Linked DNA regions of Homo sapiens: region 1 is linked to region 2. The links are contacts of gene promoters, found by promoter capture Hi-C in blood cells and fetal thymus (Javierre and others, 2016). All regions are on one chromosome and are shown on one strand. The core of a region is centred on a gene start or on the middle of the fragment in contact, and the rest is flanking DNA. Distances in the headings are between cores, read along the strand shown. Region 1 overlaps NXTAR (negative expression of androgen receptor regulating lncRNA). Region 2 holds the start of AR (androgen receptor).

Region 1 (3,951 bases), core at 1,061-3,560, 230 kb after region 2:
AAACAAGCAAGATAAAGAAATAAAGGACATCTAAATAGAAAGAGAGGAAGTCAAACTATCCCTGTTTACAGACAACATAATTCTGTATCTGGAAAACTCCATACTCTCTGCCCAAAAGCTCCTTCACCTGATAAACAACTTCAGAAAGGTCTCAAGATAGAAAATCAATGTCCCAAAATCATGAGCATTCCTATACACCAACAATACCTAAGCTGACAGCCAAATCAGGAACAAAAATCTCATTCACAATTGCCACAAAAAGAATAAAATACATAGGGATACACCTAACCAAGAAGGTGAAAGATTTCTATAATGAAAATTAAGCTCAAAGAAATCAGAGATGAAACCAAAAAATGGAAAAACATTCCATGCTCATTGATAAGAAGAATCAATATCATTAAAATGGCCATACTAGCTGAAGCACTTTATAGATTCAATGCTATTCCTATCAAACTATCAATGACATTCTTCACAGAACTAGAAAAACTATTTAAAATTCATACAGAACCAACAAAGAGCCCGAATAGCCAAGACAATCTTAAGCAAAAAGAACAAAGCTGGAGGTTTCCCGTTACCTGACTTCAAACTCTTCTGCAGGGCTACAGTAACCAAAGCAGCATGGTACTGGTACAAAACAAACACATAGACCCAGGGAATGGAATAGAGAGCCCAGAAATAAGGCCACACACCTACACCATTAACAATAACAAGCAATAGGTAAAGGACTCTCTATTCAATAAATGGTCCTGGAATAACTGGCTAGCCATATGCAGAAGATTGAAACTGAACCCCTTCCTGCACCATATACAAAAATCAATTCAAGATTGGTTAAAGAGATAAATGTAAAACCCCAAACTATAAAAACCCTGGAAGGCAACCTAGACAATACCATTCAGGACAAAGGAACGGGCAAAGATTTCATGATGAAGACACCAAAGTAATCGCAACAAAAGCAAAACTTGACAAATGGAATGTAAAATTAAGACCTTCTGTGCAGCAAAAGCAACTATCAGATTAAACAGAAAACCTACAGAAAGGGAGAAAATTTTTGCAAACTATCCATCTGACAAAGGTCTAATATCCAGCATGTATAAAGAACTTGCCAATTTATGAGAAAATAAACAAACTGTAATCCCAGCTATTCGAGAAGCTGAGACAGGAGAATCACTTGAACCCAGGAGGCGGAGGTTGCAGTGAGCCGAGATTGTGCCACTGCACTCCAGCCTGTACAATAGAGTAAGGCTCTGTCTGAAGAAGAAGAAGAAGAAGAAGGAGGAGGAGGAGGAGGAGGAGGAGGAGGAGGAGGAAACCCACATGTGACCAACAAGCATATAAAAAAAGCTCAATGTCACTGAAAACTAGAGAAATTCAAATCAAAACAACAATGAGATACCATCTCACATATCAGAATGGTTATTATTAAAGTCAAAAAATAACTGATGGGGATGAGGTTCCAGAGAAAAGGGAATGCTTATACATCATTGATGGAAGTGTAAATTAGGTCAATCATTGTCAAAGCAGTGTGGCAATTCCTCAAAGAGCTAAAAACAGAAGTATCATTTGACCTAGCAATCCTATGACTGGGTACATACCCAGAGAAATATAAATGGTTCTTTTATAAAGATACATGCACATGAATGTTCATCGCAGCACTATTCACAATGGCAAAGACATGAAATCAACCTAAATGCCCATCAATGATAGTCTGGATAAAGAAAATGTGGCACATATATGGCATGGAATACTATCCAGCCATAAAAAAAGAACAAGATTGTGTCTTTCACAGGAATATCAGTGGAAATGTAGGCAATTACCCTTAGCAAACTAATGCAGGAACAGAAAATCGAGTACTGCATGTTCTTCTGATAAGTAGGAGATAAATGGTGAAAACTCATGGACACAAAGAATCAATAGACACTGGGGCCTACTTGAGGGTGGAGAGTGGGAGAAGAGAGAGCACCAGAAAAAATAACTATTGTTGCTAGGCTTAGCACGTGGGTGTAAAATAATCTGTACAACAAACCCATGACACAAATTTACCTATATGACAAATGTGCACATGTACCCCTGAACCTGAAATAAAAGCTAAAAAGAAAGAAAAATTAGAAGCAACCTAAATATCTCCCAAGAGAAGTACCTATGGGATATTATGTCATTAGGAATGATACTTTAGATCAGAATGTTTTGCCAATGCATATTTTCAATAATATAACGTTGCATTACACACACACACACACACACGAGCGTGTGTGTGTTTGCCAATATAAGATTTTCAACAAAACGTCAAATAATGGTTTATGCCTGAATGGTGGGATTGTAAGAATCTTGAACTTTCCTTCCTTTTTTTAAAATATTTGACCATGTGTATGTATTCTTCTAAAATAAAGTGTTAACATAAAAAGATATAAGCTGTTAAGGGGACTGGTAAGAAGGAGGCTCTTGGAATATTACAGCCCTTTTTGCCATCAGTCTTTTCTCCAAGACTGTCAGAAATACGGCCGGTTTTAAAAAGCTGAGTGCTGACAGTCAATATTGGAATCAGGCCAGCCCTCCAAGGATGAAGAAGGGGTTGTGACATAAATGACTAGAGGCCCATTGATCCTGAAAACTTCTGAGCCATCAGAGGAATCAGGTTGATGTGCTGATGTGCCCTTGCTTGGCCTGATATCCCAGGGCTTCATCTCTGGCAGCCAACTGGAAATCTTACTTTATCCACATCTGAATGAGCCAGCCAGTATGTGGGGTTCTCCCTGGCAGAGGCCCAGGTAGGCTGAGGGAGATGTTGCTATTGGAGCTGCCTTCTCCACCGAGCAGCAGTGAGCTGCTGGTTCTCACTGATCAAAGTCGTTTTCATGCCACAGGCCTTGAGAACTGCCCCCAGGAGCACCCAGAGAAGGTGGCCCCTACCCTCCTGAAGGAATGAATGAGGGACTTGATGTCTCAACAAAATAGCAAAACAGGCTCATGTAGAGAGAAGAGAGGAAATTATTACTAAAGTTTGAAAGCTGAAAAGGAGGGAGGAATATTTCAGGCCATGGAGTTAGGCTCCAAAAAGATGTCAACAGGCTGAAGTAAGTGGTTGAACCTGACCAGATGATTGACAGTTACAAATGGAGAGGCCTGCAATTGAGTGCAGAAAACCAACTGACTATTCACAGGGTGGAATAGACTGTCCTATACACAGTTTGCAGAAAAGGAACTTGAGACTTTCCCTTATAGGCATCATCACTGAGATGATAAAGCCCAAAAAATCTAATGGGAACTTAGGCTGCAACAACATATGTATAGTGTTTAGATCAAGGGAAGCAACAGTCCCTTTCCACTCTGTAGTGGTTAGACCCTTACTGAGGGACTTCCTTTTGGCTCGGACTACCATACATTAAGTGGGTCATATGTAGGATGTGTACAGAAGGGAGTGAACAGACAAGGGTGCGGCTGAAAGAATTTGGAGCTGTGGCCATTTATGCTAGTGTTTTAGTCCATTTTGTGTTGCTATAAAGGAATACCTGAGACTAGGTAATTTATGTAGAAAATAGGTTAATTGGCTCATGGTTCTGCAGGCTGCATAAGCATAGTGCTGCTGTCTGCTTGAATCCTGGTGAGGCCACAGGAAGTTTACGATCATGGCGGAGGAAGAAGAGGGAGCAAGAGAGTGAAGAGGGGTCCTGGACCTTTTTAAACAACCAGATCTTTCATGAACTAACTGAGCGAGAACTCACTCATCACCAAGGAACTAGTGCTAAGCCATTCGTGAGGGATTTGACCCCAGGATCCAATACTTCCCACTAGGCTCCACTTCCAACATTGGAGGCCACATTTCAATATGAGATTTGGAGGAGACAAACATCCAAATCCTATCAGCTGGAGAAGAGAAGACTTAAGAGAAGTGCTCTTTTTGTAGACCTCTAAGATATTGTCAGGAACAGAGAGAGCAGATGGAGTCTGAGAGGC
Region 2 (3,900 bases), core at 1,401-3,900:
ATCAATTATACCTCAGTACGGCTATTAAAAAGAAACCCTCTGGCTGCACAATGCAGAACTGATTCTAGGAAAGAGTGGAGGGAGGATGACCATTTACAGTGCTCCAGGTGGAAGAGAACGGTGCCTTCTGGAAGTGAACTAGGTTGGCAACAACAGAGATGAAATAAATGGGCAGATGTGTGAGATACTTAGGAAATAAAACCCGATGGTCACCATTTTCCAAAGGTCAGCTCATCCTGGCTTTCCAGAGCAAAGAGCTAGGGAAGACTTTATTAATAAATCCCTCTTGAAGTTGCAGAGGAAGCTTATAGCAGAAACTTACTCTCAACCTGACTAATCTGAGAGAACACCTCTGGTTCCATTTGATTACTAAAAAACTGCAAAGAACAGGAGGAGAAAGAAGAAGAAAGCTGGTACAAACAGTGAACTTATATAATATTAATCAATAATTGTCTCTTGTTCTTAAAAGCAATGGGAAGAAAATGAGATTTGAGCTGGAAGATCAGAGTTCAAAATCCAAATAAAGTATATGGCCCTAATATGCTTATAGTAGTTAACCTTTCCTGATAATGATATAATTGTTGACAGCACCATCTTTAAAAATAAAAATAACATAGTAATCCTTCAGATTTGTAGAATGCTTTCCTGTTTACAAGTTTGTTCTATACACATTATGTCTTTTAAATGACACACTAGCCTTCTGAGGGTAACTTATATTGGCAACAGTTTTCAGATGTGGAAACTGTGAAGACAATGTTGGTGATGTGGAAGCAACATAAACTTTGGAGTCTTTCAGACCCAGGTTTGAATGTCAGACTGCTTTTTATTCAGAGTAACTTCAGAGCATTATTTCTCACCTTAATTTTTTTTCAGGCCTCTTTGTGTCTATGTGTCCTCTTCACTCCTGTCCATTGTTCATTCAGTGATTTTTGCACCTTCCTTCACTGTTAGTGTGTAGACACATAGTTCTCCTGGCTCTGAGACCTATGTTAATTCCATTCTACCATCCTGCCAGCCCACTCAATTCCTATTGAGCAATGCTAGTTGAAAGTTGTGGTGGGATTAAATGTTGCAATGAGTATTCAAATGAGGTTGAAGTATCTACGCATTCTACTTACATATGGTGAGGTATATTCAAGGAAGGCTGTAGCCATTAAAATCTCAGGAAATAATTTTTCACCTCCTCAGGTGAAAGGGTCTTCAGGCCTTTGTGTTCTGGAAGGTTCATTTATAGCCATTTCCCAAATGACAATGCGATTGATGAGTCTAGAGTCTAGCTCAAATAGCAATGGACTGGAAGACTAGTTTAGGTTTTACTAATGTGGAACATAGAACAAATTATGTCCTTGTTTCAGCCTGTTCATCTGTGAAATAGAGCCTATCATATCCAGTCTTCCTTGCCTTTAGGTTTGAGTTACCTTCTTTGGTCAAGGTAAGTAAATGCCTATGATGTTTGGCTGTGCACAAGATAAAGCTACAACAAAGCTACAACCCATCTTTTCTCTGTAGAAGACTGCAAAAAGCAAAAGAGACCCAGGCAAAAATCTCGGAATGACTTTTGGAACAGAGAGCCTCCCCAGAATCAGAAGTCAAAGGAATTTAAAACATAGGGAGGCCCAGGGTCTCTACTGACATAAAGGAAAGATGTTTTCCTTATAGGTTTACGTTTACATTTTCTCTCTCTTTCCATTCCCACTTGCATCTCCACCTTTACACAGGGCTTATGGGACCTCCTCCACAAAAGAGCAGTTGCAGTAACCCACATCATCCTCTACGCCTGGCTGTCCATCAAGAGGCGAAAAGCAGCCCTATATAGGTTCTATCCTTGGATAGTTCCAGTTGTAAAGTTTAAAATATGCGAAGGCAACTTGGAAAAGCAAGCGGCTGCATACAAAGCAAACGTTTACAGAGCTCTGGACAAAATTGAGCGCCTATGTGTACATGGCAAGTGTTTTTAGTGTTTGTGTGTTTACCTGCTTGTCTGGGTGATTTTGCCTTTGAGAGTCTGGATGAGAAATGCATGGTTAAAGGCAATTCCAGACAGGAAGAAAGGCAGAGAAGAGGGTAGAAATGACCTCTGATTCTTGGGGCTGAGGGTTCCTAGAGCAAATGGCACAATGCCACGAGGCCCGATCTATCCCTATGACGGAATCTAAGGTTTCAGCAAGTATCTGCTGGCTTGGTCATGGCTTGCTCCTCAGTTTGTAGGAGACTCTCCCACTCTCCCATCTGCGCGCTCTTATCAGTCCTGAAAAGAACCCCTGGCAGCCAGGAGCAGGTATTCCTATCGTCCTTTTCCTCCCTCCCTCGCCTCCACCCTGTTGGTTTTTTAGATTGGGCTTTGGAACCAAATTTGGTGAGTGCTGGCCTCCAGGAAATCTGGAGCCCTGGCGCCTAAACCTTGGTTTAGGAAAGCAGGAGCTATTCAGGAAGCAGGGGTCCTCCAGGGCTAGAGCTAGCCTCTCCTGCCCTCGCCCACGCTGCGCCAGCACTTGTTTCTCCAAAGCCACTAGGCAGGCGTTAGCGCGCGGTGAGGGGAGGGGAGAAAAGGAAAGGGGAGGGGAGGGAAAAGGAGGTGGGAAGGCAAGGAGGCCGGCCCGGTGGGGGCGGGACCCGACTCGCAAACTGTTGCATTTGCTCTCCACCTCCCAGCGCCCCCTCCGAGATCCCGGGGAGCCAGCTTGCTGGGAGAGCGGGACGGTCCGGAGCAAGCCCAGAGGCAGAGGAGGCGACAGAGGGAAAAAGGGCCGAGCTAGCCGCTCCAGTGCTGTACAGGAGCCGAAGGGACGCACCACGCCAGCCCCAGCCCGGCTCCAGCGACAGCCAACGCCTCTTGCAGCGCGGCGGCTTCGAAGCCGCCGCCCGGAGCTGCCCTTTCCTCTTCGGTGAAGTTTTTAAAAGCTGCTAAAGACTCGGAGGAAGCAAGGAAAGTGCCTGGTAGGACTGACGGCTGCCTTTGTCCTCCTCCTCTCCACCCCGCCTCCCCCCACCCTGCCTTCCCCCCCTCCCCCGTCTTCTCTCCCGCAGCTGCCTCAGTCGGCTACTCTCAGCCAACCCCCCTCACCACCCTTCTCCCCACCCGCCCCCCCGCCCCCGTCGGCCCAGCGCTGCCAGCCCGAGTTTGCAGAGAGGTAACTCCCTTTGGCTGCGAGCGGGCGAGCTAGCTGCACATTGCAAAGAAGGCTCTTAGGAGCCAGGCGACTGGGGAGCGGCTTCAGCACTGCAGCCACGACCCGCCTGGTTAGGCTGCACGCGGAGAGAACCCTCTGTTTTCCCCCACTCTCTCTCCACCTCCTCCTGCCTTCCCCACCCCGAGTGCGGAGCCAGAGATCAAAAGATGAAAAGGCAGTCAGGTCTTCAGTAGCCAAAAAACAAAACAAACAAAAACAAAAAAGCCGAAATAAAAGAAAAAGATAATAACTCAGTTCTTATTTGCACCTACTTCAGTGGACACTGAATTTGGAAGGTGGAGGATTTTGTTTTTTTCTTTTAAGATCTGGGCATCTTTTGAATCTACCCTTCAAGTATTAAGAGACAGACTGTGAGCCTAGCAGGGCAGATCTTGTCCACCGTGTGTCTTCTTCTGCACGAGACTTTGAGGCTGTCAGAGCGCTTTTTGCGTGGTTGCTCCCGCAAGTTTCCTTCTCTGGAGCTTCCCGCAGGTGGGCAGCTAGCTGCAGCGACTACCGCATCATCACAGCCTGTTGAACTCTTCTGAGCAAGAGAAGGGGAGGCGGGGTAAGGGAAGTAGGTGGAAGATTCAGCCAAGCTCAAGGATGGAAGTGCAGTTAGGGCTGGGAAGGGTCTACCCTCGGCCGCCGTCCAAGACCTACCGAGGAGCTTTCCAGAATCTGTTCCAGAGCGTGCGCGAAGTGATCCAGAACCCGGGCCCCAGGCACC

What was found. Contacts are between HindIII fragments. The CHiCAGO score rates a contact against its expected background, and 5 or more counts as called.
Region 1: a fragment that was not itself captured here is called in contact with the fragment with the promoter of AR in region 2 in 1 of 17 cell types (megakaryocytes); the score reaches 5.4 in megakaryocytes.

The regions. Positions count from the first base shown.
Region 1 is chrX:67,774,233-67,778,183 of GRCh38, forward strand. All of the region lies in intron 1 of NXTAR (negative expression of androgen receptor regulating lncRNA), which reads right to left. Among named protein-coding and RNA genes, the nearest start is that of NXTAR, 8.7 kb to the right of the region's middle. The HindIII fragment of the contact is 9,737 bases long and covers 1-3,951 here.
Region 2 is chrX:67,541,371-67,545,270 of GRCh38, forward strand. AR (androgen receptor) reads left to right here and starts at 2,651. Exons shown (of 8, transcript NM_000044.6): 1 at 2,651-3,900. The coding sequence starts at 3,777. The HindIII fragment of the contact is 7,103 bases long and covers 303-3,900 here.